Regions from separate parts of the Homo sapiens genome. Here region 1 is linked to region 2. The links are contacts of gene promoters, found by promoter capture Hi-C in blood cells and fetal thymus (Javierre and others, 2016). All regions are on one chromosome and are shown on one strand. Each heading gives the region's core, a stretch centred on a gene start or on the middle of the fragment in contact. The rest is flanking DNA. Distances are from core to core; before and after follow the strand shown.

What was found. The method cuts DNA at HindIII sites, captures the fragments that hold promoters and counts their contacts. A CHiCAGO score of 5 or more calls a contact.
Region 1: a contact is called between a fragment that was not itself captured here and the fragment with the promoter of SLC9A8 in region 2, in 4 of 17 cell types (endothelial precursors, M2 macrophages, M1 macrophages and 1 more). The highest score is 10.2, in endothelial precursors.

Annotation. Positions count from the first base shown.
Region 1 is chr20:49,538,019-49,541,403 of GRCh38, forward strand. PTGIS (prostaglandin I2 synthase) reads right to left here. Exons shown (of 10, transcript NM_000961.4): 5 at 1,552-1,703. Among named protein-coding and RNA genes, the nearest start is that of PTGIS, 28 kb to the right of the region's middle. The HindIII fragment of the contact is 2,073 bases long and covers 1,034-3,106 here.
Region 2 is chr20:49,811,388-49,814,795 of GRCh38, forward strand. SLC9A8 (solute carrier family 9 member A8) reads left to right here and starts at 1,441. Exons shown (of 16, transcript NM_015266.3): 1 at 1,441-1,561. The coding sequence starts at 1,536. RefSeq lists an enhancer at 1,120-1,259 and a silencer at 1,410-1,689. The HindIII fragment of the contact is 7,464 bases long and covers 222-3,408 here.

The DNA.
Region 1 (3,385 bases), core at 820-3,319, 270 kb before region 2:
CAACGTGGGAGGATTGCTTGAGCCCAGGAGTTGGAGACCAGTCTGGGAAACATAGTGAAACCTCATCTCTACAAAAAAATTTAAAAATTAGCCAAGCCTAGTGGCATATGCCTGTAGTCCCAGCTACTCAAGAAGCTGAGGGGGAAGGATCACTTGATCCCAGGAGATTGAGGCTGCAGTGAGCCGAGATCGCACCACTGCACTCCAGCCTGGGTGACAGAGTGAGACCCTGGTTCAGAAAAAAAAAAAAAAAAAAAAAAAAAAAAAAGGCATGCTGGCTCACTCCCATAATCTCAGCACTTTGGGAGGCCAAGGCAGGAGGATCGCTTGAGCCCAGGAGTTCAAGACCAGTATAGGTAACATAGCAAGACTCCGTCTCAAAAAAATTGTTTTTAAGACAAAAAACAAAAAATAAATAAAAACTGGACTATTGATCCATACAACAACCTGGATGAATCTCCCAACATCAAGTTGAGTGAAAGAAGCCAGGCATAAAAGGGCACATACTGTGTGATTCCATTTCTAGGAAGCTGAAGAATAGGCAAAACTAATTGGAGGTAAAAGAAACCAGTCCAGTGGCTACCTCGCAGGGGTGAATACTGGCTGGGAAAGAGCATAAAATGTTTAGATCCACTTCTCAGTGCATTTATTTATTTATTTATTTATTTATTTATTTATTTATTTAAGACAGAGTCTGGCTCTGTCACTCAGGCTGGAGTGCAGTGGCGTGATCACAGCTCACTGCAACCTCCAACTCCCAGGTTCAAGCTATTCTGCCTCAGCTTCCCGAGTAGCCAGGAATGCAGGCACCCGCCACCATGCCTGGCTAATTTTTGTATTTTTAGTAGAGATGGGGTTTCACCATGTTGACCAGGCTGATCTCAAACGCCTGACTTCAAGTGATCCGCCCACCTCAGCCTCCCAAAGTGCTGGGATTACAGGTGTGAGCCACTGCACCTGGCCTCTCAGTGCGTTTAGATGTGTGTGCTTTCCTGTATATAAATTATACCTCAGTAAAAAACAAGAAGTTAAAAGCTTCAAAAATAAAATAAAAATAAAAATAACACACATCTGTGTGTCTGTTTAGAGAAAGTGCTCCCAGGATGTACTCCAAGCTAGTGATGGTGGTTGCCTCTGTAGAGGGAAGTGGTGGGCTGAGGCTGGGGAGAAAGTGGAGCGCTCTTTTATTCTTCCCTGTAAATTATTCTATATGGCTTGAATTTTTTATAATCAGCACGAACTACTTGTAAAAACTTTTAAAGCAACTCAAACCTTAAAACACAAAAAGGAACACACACACACACAGAGATTCTCCAGCCCCACTCTAAATGTGCTGAATCAGAATTTCCACCAGGAACCCAAGCTCTGGTCCAAGCCCTGGCTCCCCACCATTGCGCTCTTGCATACCCCCAGTGATGGGGATCTTACTGCCTCCCTGGGCATTGGATGTCTTTCTGCCTGTGTTGCCTCTGGTCCTCTACCTTGAATTGGGCTCCCCCTCTGGGTCTTTCCATCCTCCCCCCCACCCACTGGGGCCCCCATGGTGCTTACCCACTGACAGGGAGCCACGGGCCAGTTTGGGGAGCAGCCGGTCGAGCTGGCGAAAGGTGTGGAAGACATCAGCTGAGTGGACGCGGTCCTGGGCCTGGCTTTCATGGGTGCGTGGCAGCGCCTCAATTCCGTAAAGAGTCAGGTAGCCGGCTCTGGGGGCGGCAGACAGAGGGTCAGGGGTCCTCCTGGGACACTCATGTGTGGCCACAGCTACTCACAAGAGCTTCATTCATACACCCAGTGAGCAACTACTAATCCTACTGTGCGCCAAAGACCATTCTGGGCACTGAACAGTCGGCAGTGAAAAAAACAAAAATCCCTGTCCTCAAGGAGCTGACCTCTCAGCACAGGGAGACAGACAACAGACGAGAGGATGAGTAAAATGAATAATGCGCCAGCTGGTGCCCCGCGGCACTGTCAGACACAAAGCTGGGTAGCAGGATGGGAGGGCGGGGGCTGTGGTGTCAGGTGCCAGGTGAGGGAGGGGCTGGTGTCAAGCTGACAGCTGAAGGCTGAGAAGGAGTCAGCCATGGGCAGAGCAGAGGGAGGGGTAGGAAGCAGAGCAAGCACCAGGTGTGATGTCCTGGGGCAGGAGGGAGCCCGGTGCTGGGGAGCAGCAAGGAGGCTGATGAGGCTGCAGCAGAGAGCTCGAGGGGACGGTGCTGAGATGGGGGCACAGAGAAGGGGAGGAGATGCCTGCTCCCAGGGAGGGATTCAGGGAAGACTTCCTAGAGAAGGGAGGGTCTGAGCTGAGATCTGCAGGATGATCGGGGGAAGCAGAAGAGGAACGTGTTCAGGCAACAGGCACAGCCTGTGCAAAGGCCCAGAGCTGAGAGTGCAACCGTGCCTGGTGGGAGAGGTGCCAGCTGTGGCTGGTGCAGGCACTGGAGCCGGGGTGTGAGGCAGAGGATGGGAGGGCCTGGGCTGTCAGGGCTGGCCACGCAAGGCAGGCATTTGCAGCAGTGAGAAGGTTGTGCTTGATCTGAGGGGCTCTGGGAGGCCCGAGAAGGAGGTCAGGGCCTGGTCAAGTGTGAAAAAGGGTAAGACATGGGAGCTAGCATGAGCTCTCATGTGCTCTCACTGAGGCACACTTACGCACACGCACACGCACACACACAGGACCACGCTCAGAGGACGCGCCTTCACCTCCAGCCCCCTTTAAATGCCCCAGGAGTCCAGCCCCAGCCCAGCGGGCTGACCTCAGTCCTGGGAGGGAAACTGCAGGCTTTCATTTTGTCATCTCTGCCTCAGCAGAGAGTCACAACAAAGAGACGCAACCAAAGCCCCGGGGCCTCACCCTCTCACCCTCCCCTTGAGCTCCTGGATCCCTGTGCAGACAAAGACCAGAGACCAGGATCTCTCAGGAGAGGGGTTTTCCCAGATGAAGAGAGAATGGAAGCAGGAATGAGGGTAGGTGGGGGCCGAGAGAGGCCTGCGTGGTCCCTGCTCTGTCCCTCACCTGCACAGTGGTGGCAGAAGTTGTAAAGGTGCAGCCCACACACTGGATTCAGTCCACAAATGTGTTTTATCAAGGGAGTTCCTAAAAACAAACTAAAGCTTCCTTCAAACATTTGGGGAAACTCACACAAAATCCGGATTTCCTGCTCATCTCATCTTGAAAAAGGAATCTGGCTGACCTGCGGTCCCACCTGGAAACCTAGCAGGAGCAGAGTTGCAGCCGCCCCTTTTAGACAGACACGTGCTTGCCAGGCCACTGCGGTACTCCCAAGGCCCTGTGGTCTCGGTGACACTGCAGTTGACACTGGTCATCATTTATCATCACACTTGCACTGTTGTTTTTTGCTAACTCAGAGAACCATTTCCCGGTACATAT
Region 2 (3,408 bases), core at 191-2,690:
GGGCTTCCATCCTCTCTCTCTCGCCAATCCCCAGTCAACTCCCAACAGGCAGCAAAGCTTAGGTTACTTCTCAGTTCAAAACCCTTCTAGGTGTGCTAGAATTAACTGATTTATTTACTCAATGATTATTTATTATTGAGTGTCTACTATGTGCCAGGTACTGTTGTAGGCATTGCAGATAAAATGGAGAACAAAACAGACAAAAATTTCTGCATTCATGAAGCTTCCGTTCTCATGGAGGGAGATGGTTAACAAACAAGTGTATGAGTAAAACATATGGTAGGTTAGGTGTCATGTGGAAAAATAGTTTAGGGAAGGCGGGGGGCCTTGGATTTTAAGTAGGGTGGTCAAGGAGGTCTAACACACAAGATAAGGGTTAAATAAAAGGCCAAACGTAGGAGAGGTGGGAGCCAAAGAGCTACCCAGAAGAAGAGCATTCTAGATAAAGGCTCAGTAAGTGCAACGGTGGAAGTATTCCTGGTGAGTCTGGGACAATAGTGGAAAGTCAAAGTGTGTGGGAGGGGAGATATAGAGCCCCATGCCCCCCTCCCACACACTTCAGAGGGGAAAAGGGGGCAGGATTGAGTCCTGTACATTCCCCACGTTTTTTTTTTCTCTGGAGATTGGAAGCCATTGGAGGGTCTAAGCAGAGGAGTGATGAGTTAAGCTGCTGTGTGGAAGTCCGTAAGGAACAGGGGTGAGTCAGAGACCCTGAATGGAGCCGTTGCAATTATCCAGATGAGATAGAGTGCCTTGGATCAGGAAGGGAGGTAGCAACAGAAGCGGCCAATAAAGTTCAAAGTCCTCAGCCCCAGTCCTCCCGATGGGGGTCTCACCTACCCCTCTCACCTCACCTTGTTCCTCCCTGCATCCCCACCCCACCGGTCACTGCTAGGCACATAGAAGCATCTACTAAGCATGTGGTGAATCAATGAACCCCTTAATGAATGGTCCACCCCTAGATCATCAGCATCCTTTTTAACGCTAGGCATATAGTCTGAACTCAACACATGTTTACAGATGGAATGCTGCACAGTCCTGCCAAGTCCAGGCGGTTATTCCTCTCCACAGCCGAAGGAAACTAAGGCTCGGGTGGGGAAGTGTCCCCCTGGGGTCTCTCCGCTTAGGCTGCAGGCTGGGCATCCTTTTTCAAACTCTTTTAGCACAGCGAAGTCGAGGGCACTGGGTGGAGGGTGCTTGCTTGCCCTCAGGGTGAGTCACAGTGACCTCAGAGGAGTTTCCCCAAAACGTCCCCGCCCTGTGATGGGGAAAAGCCGGAATCTCTCGGTCCCAGGTGGTCATGTGGCCCAGGCCGGACAAGCGTCCCGAAAGCCCCGGGAGAGACTAAGAAGCAATCCTCCCACGCGCTTTCTCCCACCCTCGGGCCACTGAGACGGAGGGACAGAGGGCCGCCCTCGCGCGGCCGAGGCCCCGCCTCCCGCTCGCCCGCCCGCGCCTCCAGCGGAAGCCGGAAGCAAAAGCGGGTCCTGCTAGCCCCGCGGCTCCGAACTCGGTGGTCCTGGAAGCTCCGCAGGATGGGGGAGAAGATGGCGGAAGAGGAGTGAGTGGGCTTTTTCCCGGGCGGCGGAGGCGGCGGGGCTGGGCCCCGGCGGGTGACAGCGAGCGCCTCAGGCCGCCCTCCGGCCCCGGAAGGCGGAGCTTCTTTTGCTGGTTGGCCAGGACTGACCAAGCCGGTGCCTACGAGGAGGGCGGGATGGGCGGGCCTGGGCCCAGGTGGGCCTTGCTTTCCCCTGGAGATCGGTCCCTCGAGCTGGGAATCTACTGCCCAGCGCAGGCCCGGAGAGCTGTCTTGCGGAAAATACAAACCATATTTACTTTCCCAGTTTTCGGTAATCTCATGGTTACTGAGCCCTCTTCCGCCTCCTCCAGGAAGTCGTCCGGGTTCTCCACACCCACCTCCTACGTAGCCAGTCGCCTCCTGTATAACGATCAGTTTTCATGTCTTTCTCCTTCACTAAGTTTCATTTAGTCATTAACTGTTAGCCATCTACTCAATTCCAGGCCCTGGGCAGGTGGTAGGAAAGGAGGCCGACCAGGAGCCGCTCTCTGGGAGCTTCCATTCTAGTGGGAAAAGAAGACCATAATTAGTCAAGGTGGTTTCAGATCGTGATTAATTAACGTTATTTGTGCCTAGTGTTCCATTATTGGAACGCTAAGCATGTGGGAGTTATTTATATCCTACTGCTCAAGGTCATCGCCAAGGTCTGATTTTTCTCACGTCTGCAGTTCTAAAAATTGCAACCTCTGGCATGAATGGGTTAAGTGTTCTGAAGGAAGCAAAATAGAGTTAAGGTTGGGGAGTCCACTCAGGAAAAAGTGACATTCAGCAGAAACTTGAATGACCAGAATGAGGGATAGGAGAAATAACATCAGGTTCAAAAGGCCTGGCTCAAGAAAGAGTTTAGTGCTTTTGAGTGACAGGCAGCATGGCTGGTGTGTAGAGAGGAAGGGGGTTAGCTGGACAAGGGGAGATGGGGAAGGACGGGCTGTGTCCTCCAGGTACTTTTGGGCAAGTCCAAAAGTCATCTCCATACCTGCAGGGCAGAGTCTGTTGCAGATTGTAGATGCCCTATCACTGTTTGTGGAATGAGTATGTGAAGATGAATAAGGAACCCCTTCATTGATACTGGAGTCCTTCACCTGATAACTTTTCAAATATATTTCTTGGCCATGTGGGGGTCATTTCATGTAATCAGTTATTTATTGAGCAGCTGCTCCATCCCAGACACTAAACAGCCTCAGCAGCACAAAATAAAAGAGGCAATATAGCCCAGCGATTTCAAGTTTGGGTTTTCAGCTTGATTCTGCCACTAACTGAGATGTTGGTGAAGTTTTGCAACCTCCCTGAGCCTTAGTTATGCATGAGTAAAAAACGGAAAGTAATCATACCCAATCAGACATGTTATACCTATTAAATGAGAGGTAGTGTGTTACCTAGTTCCTGGAATAAAGCAGTGCTCAGAAAATAATAACTTTTGTAGTCACAGTAACAGTTATTATAGCAATATTGTACTAGTTCACAATCCCAGCACAGTGTGAAAGAGCTGTGGGAACATACGCAGTGGAGTGGGTAAATTCGGGTGTGGTAAGATGGGGTAATAGGAGGTGACATTTGAGCCGTTTGAAATCTGAGAGGGATTTTGTAAAGTAGGGTAGGGCATGCCCAGATCAACAACTGGGCAAATTGAGGTGGCTTCTTCAACTTGCAGAAATAATGCCAGGAAAATAATGTAAATTGGAGAAACAAAGGTGCTAAGTAAACAGTGTTGGACCTTGGAAAGTGATGAGACTCCAGTTTGCCTCCCTTTAAATCCCCCAGTATTTGCCAAAGAGCAGGCAGCATTTCATTTCTATACTAGCTCTGATTCCCTACCGTTCTTGTCCTCT